Linked DNA regions of Homo sapiens: region 2 is linked to region 1. The links are contacts of gene promoters, found by promoter capture Hi-C in blood cells and fetal thymus (Javierre and others, 2016). All regions are on one chromosome and are shown on one strand. Each heading gives the region's core, a stretch centred on a gene start or on the middle of the fragment in contact. The rest is flanking DNA. Distances are from core to core; before and after follow the strand shown.

Evidence for each region. Contacts are between HindIII fragments. The CHiCAGO score rates a contact against its expected background, and 5 or more counts as called.
Region 2: the fragment with the promoter of DCTPP1 here is called in contact with a fragment that was not itself captured in region 1 in 4 of 17 cell types (naive CD8 T cells, erythroblasts, total CD4 T cells and 1 more); the score reaches 5.8 in naive CD8 T cells.

What each region holds. Positions count from the first base shown.
Region 1 is chr16:30,098,574-30,106,521 of GRCh38, reverse strand. It overlaps YPEL3-DT (YPEL3 divergent transcript), which reads right to left. Exons shown (of 2, transcript NR_135192.1): 2 at 1,066-3,065. GDPD3 (glycerophosphodiester phosphodiesterase domain containing 3) reads left to right here. Exons shown (of 10, transcript NM_024307.3): 10 at 1,513-1,712. The coding sequence ends at 1,650. Among named protein-coding and RNA genes, the nearest start is that of YPEL3-DT, 6.1 kb to the right of the region's middle. The HindIII fragment of the contact is 297 bases long and covers 3,044-3,340 here.
Region 2 is chr16:30,426,799-30,434,746 of GRCh38, reverse strand. DCTPP1 (dCTP pyrophosphatase 1) reads left to right here and starts at 4,717. Exons shown (of 3, transcript NM_024096.2): 1 at 4,717-4,867; 2 at 5,580-5,690. The coding sequence starts at 4,767. RefSeq lists enhancers at 4,270-4,379, 4,780-4,859, 5,613-6,113, 6,114-6,614. The HindIII fragment of the contact is 11,131 bases long and covers 1-5,708 here.

The DNA of each region.
Region 1 (7,948 bases), core at 1,943-4,442:
TCTCCGCCTACCTCAGTGCCCACTCAACGGGCAGGGAAGGGGCAGAGCTGCAGGAGCTGGGGCAGGTGGCAGTGGAATGGGGGTTTGGGGGAGGGTGGTGCTGTTAAGTGGTCAACAACTAGCTCTCAGAGAGGAACAAATGAAAGCCCTGATTTGAGGATTAATTTTCCTGGTTTAAATACTCCCATCTTGGCCAGTTTCAGGCTGCCGACATGAAGCCACTAAATGCAGAATGGGAAGAGATGCATGGTGGCACCCCATCATGTAGTATTTCCATCTTGCAGCCTCAACAGACTTAATCACTTCAAGAACACAGTAATAGGAAACTGATTAGCAAGAGATATGCTTTGAATATTTATTACTGGATTTTTGTTTGTTTTGGGTTTTGTTTTTTGTTTTGTTTTGTTTTTTGAGACAGAGTCTTGCTCTGTTGCCCAGGCTAGAGTGCAATGGCGTGATCTCAGCTCACTGCAACCTCCACCTCCTGGGTTCAAGCGATTCTCCTGCCTCAGCCTTCTGAGTAGCTGGGATTACAGTCGCCCGCCACCACGCCCAGCTAATTTTTCTGTTTTTAGTAGAGATGGGATTTCACCATGTTGGCCAGGCTGGTCTCGAACTCCTGACCTTAGTTGATCTGCCTGCCTCGGCCTCCCAAAGTGCTGGGATTACAGGCGTGAGCCACTACGCCTGGCCACTTGTTGTTTTAATAATTTATTTAGGGCCGGGCGCGGTGGCTCACACCTGTAATCCCAGCACTTTGGGAGGCCGAGGCGGGTGGATCACGAGGTTAGGAGATCGAGACCATCCTGGCTAACATGGTGAAACCCCATCTCTACTAAAAACAGAAAAATTAGCTGGGCGTGGTGGCGGACATCTGTAGTCCCAGCTACTCAGGAGGCTGAGACAGGAGAATGGTGTGAACCCGGGAGGCAGAGCTTGCAGTGAGCCGAGTTCATGCCACTGTACTCCAGCCCGGGTGACAAACCAAGACTCCATCTCAAAAAATAAATAAATAAATAAATAAATAATTTAATTGTCAGTATATATAATTTTTTTTTTTTTTTTGAGACGAGGTCTTGTTGTATCGCCCAGGCTGGAGTACAGTGGTGCAACCATAGCTCACTGCAGCCTTAGAGTCCTGGGCTCAAGCAATTCTTTCACCTCAGTCTTCCAAGTAGCTGGGAGCACAGGCGCATACCACCACACCGGGCTAATTAATTTTTACAAAGTTTTTTGTAGAGATGAGGTCTCACTCGATCTTAAACACCTGGCCTCAACTCCTGCCTCGGCGTCCCAAAGTGTTGATATTACAGGCGTGAGCCACTGCACCCAGGCTATGATTTAATTTTTAATAATGGCTGGGTTTAATAACCACTTTGCAAAATTCCTGAGAATTTAACAATCAGCTCCAGCCTACTGCTGCTGGGGAGTCTCCATAGAGGAGGAGGTGGGTCCCCACTCTCCAGATGTAAAATTGTTCAGAATCTACAGGCCCCCTCCCTCCCTGCTCAGGTGGTCTTTTGGTGCCTTAATGAAGAGTCGGATTTTGAAGCAGCCTTCAGCGTGGGAGCCACTGGCGTCATAACGGATTATCCCACAGCCCTGCGGCACTACCTGGACAACCATGGACCAGCTGCCCGGACCTCCTAAGTCCAGAAGCCTCGAGGTCTCCTGTTTCTCTTCCTGAAAAATAAATATTTGCCTTTCGATCACATCGTTGTGCTGAGGGTGAGGAGTAGAGGGGTGGGTCCTGAAGATATGAAGATGGCAGCTTAGGAGGGAACAGGCCAGCCCTGAGGCTGGAGCCTGGGGCCCTCAGGAGCCTGACCCACTGGTTCCACTGCATTCCTGTCCTCCTGCCACACCCCACCCCAGCCTGGCCTCCACTCTCCTCAGCAATGTCCTCTCACGGCCAACCCAGGCATCCTGGCCCCCAGCCACTTGACAGCAACAGGTAATGGTTCCATTTTCCTGAGGCCATCAACAGCCCAGGCACCGGGCAGGGAACTTGATCTCTTCCATGTCTTGCCCTGTGAGCTTCCTTCTCGGGCTGCAGAGGATGGGCCTGGGTGGGACAGCTGAGTTCACCCAGCCCCTCTGCTGCCCCCGCCATTCCAACCTTCTCCTCCCAGGTCTCCTTCTCCAGAAGCTCCCAGAATGCTTCTGCCATCTTCAGCCCCAGGGCCATATTCACTGAAGGAACTACACATTCACATTTCACAGATACTTCCTGAGCGCCTCCTCTAGACCAGGCTGGGCCCACTGCAGTGAGCAACACAAGCCAAAGAACTGCAGACACGTGTTGAAACAGACATTCCCTGAGATCAGACCTAACCCAGCCTGGAGCACAGGGGTGTTGGAAACAAGTGCTCAGTGTAGTCAAGAAAAACCAGCACTGAGACAGATTTCCCAGCAAGGCATCTTTACTTCAGAACGGTGCTACTTGCGCAGCTTGTAATCGCAAGAGCACCCCAAACAAAGGAGAGAAGGGCTTTTTAACCCTAACGCAGTTCCTGTTTCTGTGTCCTTTCCCCATTGACTGGGGATGGACTGCACAATCTGAGCTGATCCCGACTGGCTAAGGTTTAAACTTTCCCAAACAGGGTAGACTGGCGAAAAAGAAGAAAAACGGGGAGAAGTTTATGACCAGGAAGTTGAGTCTTTGAAGAGCTTAGCTGTCCCAACAATTTCCTCTCTTCTATTTGATACTTCTTCCTCTGCAAAAAATTTTAACAGGATTTGGCTTCGTTGTTCTTCTTGATTATCCAGGAGCAAGAGCTTGTCCAAGTATGGAGGGAGAGAAGAGAGGAAGGCTTTAGTGAGGGCTGTTTCTATGAGCCTTTGAGTTAACCCACGAATACAAGGTATGATGCGGCAGCCCACAAGGATAAGTACACTTGTTACAATTGCAAGAGAGGTAAAGATTGAAGCCAGGAGTCCTTTCCATTTTCCAAACCACTTTTCCATGAGACCCATAAAAGGGTTATCTAGTCCAGAATTTTCGGCTAATTCATTTGCCAGGGTGGTAAGGCCTTGTAAAGCTTTTGTGATGGTCCCGTCGGCGGCTGTATTATTAGGGATAAAAGTACAACATTGGACTCAGATCATGACACAGACTCTGCCTTTTCCTGCCAATATCATGTCAAGGGCTAGTCTATTTTCCCAGGTCATCTGGCTGGTGGGGCCTAATTGTTCAGCTATTCCTTTGATGGCATCCCTGGTATAACTGACGAATCGCTGCTCGCTGTAGTATATATAATTTATCCAGTCTACATTTTTATTTATAGCAGACCACCAGAACAAAACAGACTTAAACCCAGCGGCTATTTGATTCCAAGCTTTAAATTCACTTGGTAGCTCCCGTGGGACCCTGCTACTGTCTATGTAAACATGGGGGTCAAAGGCCCACGAGGGGCTTCTCTTTTTCTTTGGGTTACTTGCTTCCTGTCTGGTTGATGAAATGCCAAGGTGAAAGGGATGGCCAACTGGATTAGAGCAAAAGTGCTGCTCCAATTGCTTGGCAGCGTACCCAGTAACAGTCCACAATACCACCATACATCTGCTCGGGGATAGACAAGGGCTGACTGATTGGTTAGCTCTTGAAAAGGTTTAGACTCCCATTAGATTTCCAAGGAACGTCAATTTGTCCTGTTGTGGGAGACACAAGGTGTAACTGGCATTGAGAGGTGGAAGTCAAATGGTCCTTGGGAGCTGACCCGTAGGGCTCCTGATCTTTGGGAAACGTAGTGAAAGAGTGGCGCACGTCTTGTTTCCCCAGGCTGTGGTGTGCTGGAAGAGAGCTACCATACAGTCCATGCCTGGTTGGTTGGCCCATCTGAGTGGAAAGGGGACAATCTGGGTTTCCGGCCTGCCCGCTGCACAAGAGTAACAATCGCTTTTATTCAGGGTGCGAAAAGAATATTTAATCCATTCCAGCCAGGCATTTGCATCTTGATACCCGGTCTCAATGGCTAGGGTTTGCTTTAAGTCCTTGACTTCTACTATAGCTACTTTGGTTTTGTCATTGGGTAAGAGGTGAGGAATGGTTTGATTTGGTGGGCTTGGGGAGGGGGAGACGGTAGGAGGTGGAGAAGGGTGAACAAAACATATTTCAAAGAAGCCTATAGGGTCCCTTCCAGTAACATCGGCTCCTAAGCCATAGAAGCAACCTAGAGTGGAGTTAGGGTCGGTGGAGGTAGGGGTAGTAATAGAGGTAAGTACTGGGTTGCACTGGTTGGATTGGCAATTATAGGGGTGGTTCCCTTGATAAAGTAAAGGCTGCTTCCTTCGGGTTTTATTAGTTTTTTTGCACACTAGGCAACTATCCGCCACCTGACTAGCGAGGGTAGAGATTCCTATATACCCATAGGCTTTGAGGACTGTGTCACACATAGCTTGGGGACCCCAGTGAGTTTCTTGATAAAGCTGTGATAATATTTCCCTCATAAGAGGTTTAGACAGCATTTCCCTCCCGTCTGGTAATACCCACCTTCCCTCTGAGCTTTCCTTAGCTCCTATTCTTTTTAACTTTTCTTGGTCCGCGTCGGAGAAGATGGGGATTGCGACTGGAGGGGAAGGCAAGGGGTCAGATGGAAAATGGGTGCCTCTCAGGAAGAGGCAACTTGCTTGGCTACTTGATCTGTGAGGTTATTTCCCCGGTTTTCAAAAGATGGGTTTTTCTGGTGTCCTGGGACGTGGACCACCACTATTTCTTCTGGCAGTTGAAGATTTTCTAGTACTTGCATAATCAATTCTTTATAGACAAGGTCCTGGCCCTTACTATTAATGAGGCCTCGTTCAGTCCAGATCTTTCCAAAGGTATGGACTACTCCAAAATACTTGGAGTCAGTGTAAATAGTTCCTTCCTGATTTTGCAGAGATTTTAAGGCCTGATTTAATGCAAAGAGTTCACATGTTTGAGTGAACCAGTTATTGGGCCGTCTCCCTGACTCTACCTCCATGAGGGTTTCCCTGTCAACTACAGAGCACCCGTTATGCCTCCTTCCTTCAATTACCCGAGAGGAGCCGTCTATAAAGAGGTAATGCCCAGTTTGGAACAGGGTCTTGCTTAGATGCAGTCTGACTCTAGTCTGATAACTGATCAGATCTAAACATTTATGCTCAGGTTCCTCCCGGTTCGGATTTCCTGTTAGGAAAACATCGGAGTTGAGCGAACTACCAGTGGTCAATGTTAAATCATCCCTCTCTAATAAGATAGCCTCAATTTTTTTGGGGGGTGGGTGGAGGATGGAGTCTCGTTCTGTTGCCCAGGCTGAAGTGCAGTGGCTGATCTCGGCTCAGTGCAACCTCCGCCTCCGGGGTTCAAGCAATTCTCCTGCGTCAGCCTCCCAAGTAGCTGGGATTACAGGCGTGCGCCACCATGCCTGGCTAATTTTTTGTATTTTTAGTAGAGAGGGGGTTTCACCATGCTGGGCACTCTGGTCTCAAACTCCTGACCTTGTGATCTGCCCACCTCAGCCTCCCAAAGTGCTGGAATTACAGGCGTGAGCCACCACACCCACCCGATAGCCTCACATTTTAAAATCCTTGAGTCAGTGAGCTATCTTCCTGCCTTCTGATTAAGAATGGTTCTAACGTGATGAAGGGTACATACAATGAGGCTTCCCCCAAAGGTTATTTTCCTGCTTCGTTCCATTAGCAAAGCAGTTGCTGCTACAGACTGGGCACATTCGGGCCATCGGTGGGTTACTGGGTCAAGAACTTTTGACAGGAAGGCTATGGGCTGCCAGTGGCCTCTGTGTCTTTGGGTGAGTACCCCTAAAGCCAACCCCTTGTTTACACTGATGAAAAGGTGGAATGGCTAAGGAGGGCAAAGCTATAACGGGGGCAGTTACAAGTAGGTGTTTTAACTCTTCTACTTGTTGGACTTCTGATAGGGTCCAAAGAAGGGGGTCTGGTCCTTCTTGGGTGAGTTTTTTATGTAGAGATTTTGTTTTTCAGGCATAAGAGTCAATCCATAGACGACAGTATCCAACTAATCCCAAGAATTTTCTAAGTTCCTGCTTTGTTTCAGGCAAAGGTAGAGATGTGACACCTTCAATTCGTTCAGGTACTATTTTCCGTTTGCCTTTACTGATTAGGTGTCCTAGATATTTTACCTCAGGTTCTACAAACTGAATTTTACTCCTTGAGACCCGTAACCCTTGTTCCCTTAGGAAATTCAGGAAGTTAATTGAAACTGTGGTTATGTGGTCCTTGCTATTTCCTGAAATGAACAGGTCATCTGCCTATTCGAGTAGGCATATGGATGAAGGAAGGGAAAAGTTTTCTAGGACTTGTTCTAAAATTTGACCGAATAGATTTGGGGAGTCTGTAAACCCCTGGGGTAGGACTGTCCACTGGTACTGCTGTTTTCGACCTAAGTGAGGGTCCTCCCACTCAAAAGCAAACATGTCCCGGCTGTCTTCCGCTAAAGGGCAAGCCCAAAAGCCATCTTTCTTTTTTTATTTTTTATTTTATTTATTTTTTGAGACAGAGCCTGGCTCTGTTGCCAGGCTGGAGTGCAGTGGCACGATCTCGGCTAACTGCAACCTCAGCCTCCTGGGTTCAAGCAACTCTCCTGCCTCAGCCTCCTGAGTAGCTGGGATTATAGGCACATGCTGCCATGCCTGGCGTGTGTGTGTGTGTGTGTGTGTGTGTGTGTGTGTGTGTGTGTATTTTAGTAGAGACGGGGTTTCACCGTGTTGCCCAGGCTGGTTGCAAACTCCTGAGTTCGGGCAGTCTGCCCGCCTCAGCCTCCCAAAGTGCTAGGATTACAGGTGTGAGCCACCGTGCCCAGCTGGCATCTTTCAAATCTATCATTGTGAACCACTGGTGATCATATGGGATTTTGCTGATAATAGTGTAAGGGTTGGGAACAACAGGGTGGGTAGTTTGAGCTGTTTGATTAACAGCCCAGAGGTCTTCTACTAGCCGGTATGACCCATCTGACTTTCTTACAGGCAATATTGGAGTGTTATAAGGGGACATACAGGGTTCAAGGGGTCCGTCATGGACGAGGCCCTCAATTATAGGTTTTAGAGCCATTCTAGCTTCTAAGGGAATAGGGTATCGTTTTCTCCTGACCACTTCCCTGGGAATTTTTTTTTAATAAATAAATCAATAAATCAATAAATAAATCTGACGGTGGAACCCAAATCAGAGTTAATCACTTTCTTTCTTTTTTTTTTTTTTTTTTGAGACGGAGTCTTGCTCTGTCTCTCAGGCTGGAGTGCAATGGCGTGATCTCAGCTCACTGCAAGCTCCACCTGCCAGGTTCACACCATTTTCCTGCCTAAGCCTCCTGAGCAGCTGGCACTACAGGCGCCCGCCACCACGCCCGGCTAATTTTTTGTATTTTTTTAGTAGAAACAGGATTTCACCGTGTTAGCCAGGATGGTCTCGATCTCCTGACCTCATGATCCACCCACCTCGGCCTCCCAAAGTGCTGGGATTACAGGCTTGAGCCACCATGCCCGGCCTTTGAGCCTCTCTTAATTAAAAGTTCCTCTATGGAGCAGTCTTGCCAATTTTCTATCTTTTGTAATTTCTTTCTAATGTCCGGCCGACTGTTGGTGATAAAATAGAGCTTTAACATCCCTTGTCCAAGTGGGTCCTCTATGTCTAAGCCTGAATATTTTCTTATTTGCTCCTTAAGTGTCTTTAAAAATTCCATGGGCCCTTCATCTTTTTCTTGGTGTACATTAAATGCTCGAGAAATATTTTGGGTTTGAGGCACCAATTCCTGAATCCCTTTAATTATCATATCCCTGAGGTCTTTCATGTTTTCTCAGTGGGCTGCATTGTTCCTATTCCACTGAGGGTCCTGGGCTGGGAATTTCTGCTCTGCTGCAGGGATGTTTTGACCAAGAGGGTGTTCACATTCCCAGACTATCATAGCAGCCCTGCGGATCATGGTTCTTTCCTCCCCTGAGAAGAGAATACCTAA
Region 2 (7,948 bases), core at 3,468-5,967, 330 kb before region 1:
CTCGCTCTGTTGCCCAGGCTGGAGTGCAGTGGCACAATCATCGCTCCCTGCAGCCTCAAACTCCTGGGTTCAAATGATCTGCCCAAAATATGATCACTCTCCTGCTTAAAACCCTCTGAGGCCAGGCGCGGTGGCTCACACCTGTAATCCCAGTGCTTTGGGAGGCCAAGGCAGGCAGATCACCTGAGGTCAGGAGCTCGAGGCCAGCCTGACCAACATGGTAAAACCCTGTCTCTACTAAAAATACAAAAATTAGCTGGGCGTGGTGGCACATGCCTGTAATCCCAGCTACTAGGGAGGCTGAAGCAGGAGAATTTATTGAACCCGGGTGGCAGAGGTTGCAGTGAGCTGAGATCGCACAACTGCACTTCAGCCTGAGCAACAGAGGGAGACTACATCTACAAAAAAAAAAAAAAAAAAAATCTAAAATGAAACTCGTGGTGAATTGGTCTGATCTGACCTCTTTTTACTTCTCCTACACCGTACACATGCAACCACTCTCTGCTTTGCTCACTGCCTTCCTGCCACACTGCAATATGCCAAGCCTTTCCTGCATTAGGCATTGGTTGTTCCCTCTGCCTAGAACTCTATTCCCCTTGATTTGTCCTCAGCTTAAATGTCACTTTCTCCAAGGCAAGTAACAAAAAACCGAACTAAAAGTAGTTTGACCATTAAAGGGATTCATTTTCTTATATAGCCAGAGTCCGAAATTAGGGTATTTCTGGAACTTGTACAATAAGTGGCTCAGCAATGTTAGGAAGGATCAAGTTCCTTTGTATCTGGCTGACTTGCCAATTTCAGCCTGAGGACTAGGTTTCCTCTCAATCTTCTCTCCATATACCAACATCTAGAGGTAGAAACATCCTGTGTCTTTTGTGGTTTTGTTTGTTTGTTTGTTTGATTTTTTTTTTTTGAGACAGGGTCTCCCTCTGTCACCCAGGCTGGAGTGCAGTGGGCTGATCATAGCTCACTATAACAAACTCCTGGGCTCAAGTGATCCTCCCACCTTAGCCTCCTGAGTAGCTAGGAATACAGGTGCATGCCACCATGCCCAGCTAATTTTTTTTTTAATTTTGTGTAGAGTGTCGCTATGTTGCCAGGGCTGGCCTCAAAAGATCCTCCTGCCTCCACCTCTGAAACTGCTGGGATTAGAGGCATGAACAACCATAGCCAGCCCCTGTAATTTCTTTAAAGAACTAAGAAGAACGTTTCCCAGAAATCCAATAGAGTTCCTCCAACTTGGCCGGGCAGTGGCTCATACCTGTAATACCAGCACTTTGGGAGGCCGAGGCAGGGAGATCACAAGGTCAGGAGATCGAGACCATCCTGGCCAACATGGTTAAACCCTGTCTCTACTAAAATACAAAAAATTAGCTGGGCGTGGTGGCACACGCCTGTAGTCCCGGATACTCAGGAGGCTGAGGCAAGGGAATCGCTTGAACCCAGGAGGTGGAGGTTGCAGTGAGCAGAGATTGCGCCACTGCACTCCAGCCTGGCGACAGAGCGAGATTCTGTCTAAAAAAAAAAAAAGACTTCCAACTTATTATCCATAGCATGCTCATTCATAAACCAATCAATGGCCAGGGCAATGGGAACACTATGACCAGTCAGGCAGAACAATCAAGTGGAGGAGCGTGGACCCCAGAACAAAATCAAGATTCTGTAAGTGGCCGGGCGCGGTGGCTCACGCCTGTAATCCCAGCAATTTGGGAGGCAGAAGGGGGAGGATCACTTGAGGTCAGGAGTTCAAGACCAGCCTGGCCAACATGGTGAAACCCCATCCCTACTAAAAATACAAAAATTAGCTGGGTGTGGTGGTGTGCACCTGTAATCCCAGCTATTTGGGAGGCTGAGGCAGGAGAATCACGTGAACCCAGGAGACGGAGGTTGCAGTGAGCAGAGATCATACCACAGCACTCCAGCCTGGGCGACAGAGTGAGACTCCTAAAAAAAAAAAAAAAAATTCTGCAAGAATAGAAGAGGAGCCAGGCATGGTGATGCTCACCTGTAGTCTTAACTACACAAGTGGGCTGTGATTGTGCCACTGCACTCTAGCCTGGGCAATAGAACCAGAACCTGTCTCCTCCTCAAAAAAGAAAAGAAAAAAGAAAAAGAGAATGGAGAAGAGGAAAAAGAGCAATTAAGTAGGTAACCTACAGTGCTTACTATATATCTTCCTGGACCATGCAATCTAAACATGCCCCCAATCACTTTTCATAGTATATATGTATGTATTTATTGAAACAGGGTCTCACTCTGTCGCCCAGGCTGCAGTGCAGTGGCGTAATCATGTCTCACTGCAGGCTTGACCTCCCTAAGCTCAGGTGATCCTCCCACCTCAGCCTCCCAAGTAGCTGGGACCACAGGTGTGCACCACCATGCCCAGATTTTGTTTTGTTTGTTTTGTTTTGTTTTGTTTTTGAGACAGGGTCTTGCTCTGTCACCCAGGCTAGAGTACAGTAGCACAATCTCGCCTCACTGCAACCTCCATCTCTCGGGTTCAAGTGATTCTCATGCCTCAGCCTCCTGAGCAGCTGGGACTACAAGCATGCACCACCACACCCAGCTAAGTTTGTATTTTTAATAGAGAAAGGGTTTCACCATGTTGCCCAGGCTGGTCTCAAACTCCTGATCTCAAGTGATCTGCCCACCTCCGCCTCCCAAAGTGCTAGGATTACAAGCATGAGCCACTACGCCCAGCCTTTCATAGTATTTAAAATACAGTTACATTTATTTTTTTCATATTTATCGCCATTTCAGGCAATACATCATAGGGTCTAATAACAGACTGTGAAGCCAAACTGCCTGGATTTGACGCCAGCTCTACCACTTTACTAGCTGTTAAGTTATTTAACCTCTCAGTTTCCTTATCTTTTTTTTTTTTTTTTTTTTTTTTTTTTTGAGACGGAGTCTCGCTCTTTCGCCCAGGCTGAAGCACAGTGGCGCGATCTCGGCTCACTGCAAGCTCCACCTCCCAGGTTCACACCATTCTCCTGCCTCAGCCTCCTGAGTAGCTGGGACTACAGGTGCCCGCCACCACACCCAGCTAATTTTTTGTATTTTTAGTACAGACGGGGTTTCACCGTGTTAGCCAGGATGGTCTCGATCTCCTGACCTCGTGATCCGCCCGCCTCGGCCTCCCAAAGTGCTGGCATTACAGGCGTGAGCCACCGCGCCCGGCCTCAGTTTCCTTATCTTTAAAATGGGGATGACAACAATATTACCTACCATATAGGGTTTTTGTGAGGATTAAATTAGTTGCTATGAGGATTAAATATGTAAAATGCTTAAAACAGCCACCCCAGTTCCAGTTCATTCCTGAGGTCCCACTGTATTCTGGAGACACTCTTGTATCCTTACAATAAATTCCTTGTGGCCGGTGGGGGTGGCTCGTGCCTGTAATCCCAGCACTTCGGGAGGCCAAGGCAGGAGGATTGCTAGAGCCCAATCCAGCAATCCTGGTTCAAGACCAGCTTAGGCAACATGGTGAAACCCTGTCTCTATAAAAAATTTAAAAAATAAAAATAATAGATTTCTTTTTCTTGCTAAAAGCAGTTTAAACTTGTTTCTGTTGCATGTATCCAATCTTAACTGCTGGATAATATCATTTGTATAAATATACTTCCATGTAGCCATTCTTCCGTTGATAGTCATTTTATTTTCAATTTTTTTCACTCTTAGAAACAAAACTGTAATGAACTTCTTGCATGTGTCTCTCTGCACATATTCATTAATTTCTCTAGGGCATATACCTAGAATTGCAATTGTCACAGCCTTGGGATTTTAATTTCCAAAATCTGACTCTGCCTCTTCCTGCGCTTTCTTACGCTTTCACTTCCAGCAAGCTGGAAGCCTCTTTAAACGTGGAAATCAGAGATAGTAGCCCTAATAAGGGTACAATAATAAATCATTCTTTGCAAGACTACACCTGTTCTAGGGTTTCATAAAGATCTCTGCTCCTCCCATGGCCAATAACTCAGTGGTTCTGATTTGAAAGCAGCAACCCTGTGACTCGCCACCTCGCGTATTCCCTGGTGTGAGTGGAGCCTGGAGTTCTCGTGTGTGGGGTGGAGGAGCCGTGCTGGGGACCCATGAGGCTGGAGAGGCCGGCACAGGCCAGACCATAAGGGGCCACGTGTTTCAGGGCAATGTACGTTGCGCTGGGGCCTACTGCCTCCCTTAGGACAGGGATGGGGCGACCTCCATCGTTTCAACCACAGGACACAGCGATGGCGGGGAGCTGAAGTCCTACTGCCGTCTGATCTTACTCCGCTCTTCCCCTTCAATCCCATCCAAATAGTGTGGGGGTTGGCCTCGAGGTTTCTCAACGTCCTTAAGCCCTGATTTAATACCTATGCATAGGGCCTTTCATTTATAGGGTTTTCCACCTGACGGGCCCTCTTCCGCTGCCGTTTCGCTTTGGCGCCCTCTGGCGCCCATAAACGAAGTGACGCGCCTGCGCTTCCCCCACCCTCTGCCCTTCGTCTCTTCCCCAGGTCGAATTGGTACCTCTACCTTTAGACACAGGGCCTAGCGGAAGAATTCCAGGGCCTAAGACTAGAAACGCGCGCTTGAAGCTCCCTCAGATTGGTCCAGTGAGGGAAGGGGAGGGCTGTAGCAAACTCCACAAAAGTCATTGGTCTCTTTCCTCAGGCTCCGCCCCGTGAGGCAATAGAGAACTCCCGTAATTGGTCGGAGCTCTGGAGGCGGGGCTTCGAGCGTGGCTCGTGGGTTTTCCGTGAAGTCGCGGTGCAGCGGTGGGCGGCATGTCTGTGGCCGGTGGGGAGATTCGTGGGGACACGGGGGGAGAGGACACTGCTGCTCCCGGCCGGTTCAGCTTCAGCCCGGAGCCCACGCTCGAGGACATGTAAGCAGGCCTGGCCCAGCTCGGGGTGGGGAAGTCGCCCCTTTCTCCCGCGTTTTGGGGAGGGTTCCTCCACGTGGTCGGGAAGCGGGCTGGCAGCGGGGCTCGGGTCCTGGCTCTGTGGGCTGTCCCTGGGTGAGCCTTCTTACCTCATCTGCAAAATGGGCGCAGCGGTGCACACCTGAGGCAAGGGAAATTGGGTGGTGCCTCCGAGTGGTAACTAGGAACGCCCTTCAGCCTAGCCCTGGGAAGATACCGGCACCAGATACCGCCTCTGCTCTCCAGGCGCCGGGGGTACGAGAGGGGCAAACGAAGTGCTGAGAGGTGGGAGACGTTATTTTTTGCTGGAGGAGGTCAAGAAAGGCTTCTTAGAGGAAGGGTCTGTGGAACTACCTTCTGTAAGAGAAATTGCATTTTGATGTGCGGCGATTCCAGGTGGAGGAAACTGCAGAAGTAGCAGCAGGAGATGGAATAATGAAGAGGGTTTTGTTAGTTTTGGCGAGATGTTAAGGGCAGTTCAGGGGCACGCCCATTTTATAGATGAGGGAACCAAGTTCCGGAAAGAGGAAATGACCTGCACAATACCATCCAATGAATTAGTTGCAGAATCTCCTGGTCCCAGGCCCCATTACATACTACGGGGGTAGCTGCCTCTGGCCCCTGCATCACCCTCTAACCCGGAGACTTGGACTTACACTCCTTTGTCCTATTTCAGCCGCCGCCTCCATGCTGAGTTTGCTGCGGAACGAGACTGGGAACAGTTCCATCAGCCTCGGAATCTCCTCCTGGCCTTGGTTGGGGAAGTGGGGGAGCTGGCAGAACTCTTGTGAGTAGATGGAAAGCTTCCTGGTAGAGTCTGAGTTGTGGGGGAGGGGAGGGGAGCATTTATTTGGTCTTCAAACATTCATGGGTTCAGTTTCCCCTCCTGATTGCTAGGCTCTTTGCTGTTGTTGGGATGCAGAGAGGACTCACGGGTCCCTGCCCTCTAGGGGCACTCAGCCTCCTGGAAGAGAGAGGTGTGAGGTGTGAAAGCATCAGGACAGGTCCCGTCTAGGAAGAAGCAGTGGCAACAACCCTTTTCCCTTCTTTTGTTTTTTGTTTTTTTGGCTTTTTTTTGAGACGGGGTCTCGCTCTGTCGCCCAGGCTGGAGTGCAGTGGCTCAATTTCGGCTCACTGCAACATCCGCCTCCTGGGTTTAAGCAGTTCTGTCTCAGCCCCCCGAGTAGCTGGGACTACAGGTGCCCCCCACCACGCCTGGCTAATTTTTGTATTTTTAGTGGAGACGGGGTTTCACCATATTGGTCAGGCTAGTCTCAAATTCCTGACCTCAGGTGATCCACCCGCCTTGGCCTCCCAAAGTGCTGGGATTACAGGGGTGAGCCACCACGCCTGGCCCAACAACCCTTTTCCTCTGCCTCTGGGGCTGAAAGGAAGGTATTCTGTAGAGGACCTGCCTGTGGCATTCCAGACATGGGAACTACATTTGCAGGGGCAGTGAGGCAAGAAAGGGCAAGTTCAATTCAGGGAGAATCTGACGCTCCTTCATTGTAAGCATCTCAGGAAAAATCAGGGATTTGGGATCTGTTTTCTCTGATGTGTCCCAAGTGCCCAGCGCATAGTAGGCGCTCAATAGGCACACGTTGGATGAGTGATAGGGCTGTGGAGGAGAGGGGTGGGAGTTGAACCCACAAAGATATGATTAGGGCTAGAGTATGATGGAGAGTTTGGACAGAAGACCTGACCAGATATGAGTGTTGGAAAGGTCACTGTGTCTACAGGGTGGATTGGATGGATCACTGAGAGAATGGGGCAGGGGACACCAGAGAGTTGGCTGGTGTAGACCAGGCAAGAGGCGATGAGCCCTAGACCAGGACAGTCATTTTTTTAAGAGAAAAGGTCTCACTCTGTTGCTGAGGCTGGAGTGTACTGGTGTGATCATAGCTCACTGAAGCCTCAGGAGCTCAAACGATCCTCCCACCTCAGCCTTCGGAGTAGCTGGGTCTACAGGCGTGCGCCACCACCAAGCCTGGCTAATTTATTTTTACTTTTTGTAGAGATGGGATCTCTCGCTGTTGTTGCCCAGGCTGGTCTCAAACTCCTGGTCTCAAGTGATTCACTTGCCTCACCATCCCGCAGCACTGGGGTTACAGGTTGAACCACTGCACATGGCCTCATGACAGATTTATGAACATCACCTATGTGCTAGGTCTTCTAGAATTGAGATATGGCCTGGAACAAGGCAGAAAGGTTTCCACCTTCACAGTGGAAGGAGATTGACAGTAAATCAGTAATCTCATATTAGAAGATCTGGAATTATGACAAGTTCTATGAGGAAAAGAACACAAGGTGATGACCCAGTCTGGCCAACATGGTGAAACCCTGTCTCTACTAAAAATACAAAAATTAGCCAGGCATGGTGGCGGGCGCCTGTAATCCCAGCTACTCAGGAGGCTGAGGCACAAGAATCGCTTGAACCCAGGAGGCAGAGACTGCAGTTAGCCAAGATCACACCATGGCACTCCAGCCTGGGCGACAGAGCAAGACTCTGCCTTAAAAAAAAAAAACAAAAAAGGGGCTGGGCGGGGTGGCTCACACCTGTAATCCCAGCACTTTGGGAGGCTGAGACGGGCAGATCATGAGGTTAGGAGATCAAGACCATCCTGGCTAACACGGTGAAACCCCGTCTCTACTAAAAATACAAAAAAATTAGCCGGGCGTGGTGGCGGGCGCCTGTAGTCCCAGCTACGCAGGAGGCTGAGGCAGGAGAATGGCGTGAACCCAGGAGGCGGAGCTTGCAGTGAGCCGAGATCGCGCCACTGCACTCTAGCCTGGGCGACAGAGCAAGGCTCCGTCTCAAAAAAAAAAAAAACCCAACGAAAAAGGTCCAGGTGCGGTGGCTCACACCTGTAATCCCAGCACTTTGGGAGGCCGAGGCAGGCAGATCACCTGAGGTCAGGAGTTCAAGACCAGCCTGGCCAACATGGTGAAACCCTGTCTCTACTAAAAAATACAACCATTAGCTGGGCATGGTGGCACACCCCTGTAGTCCCAGCTACTCGTGAGGCTGAGGCAGGAGAATTGCTT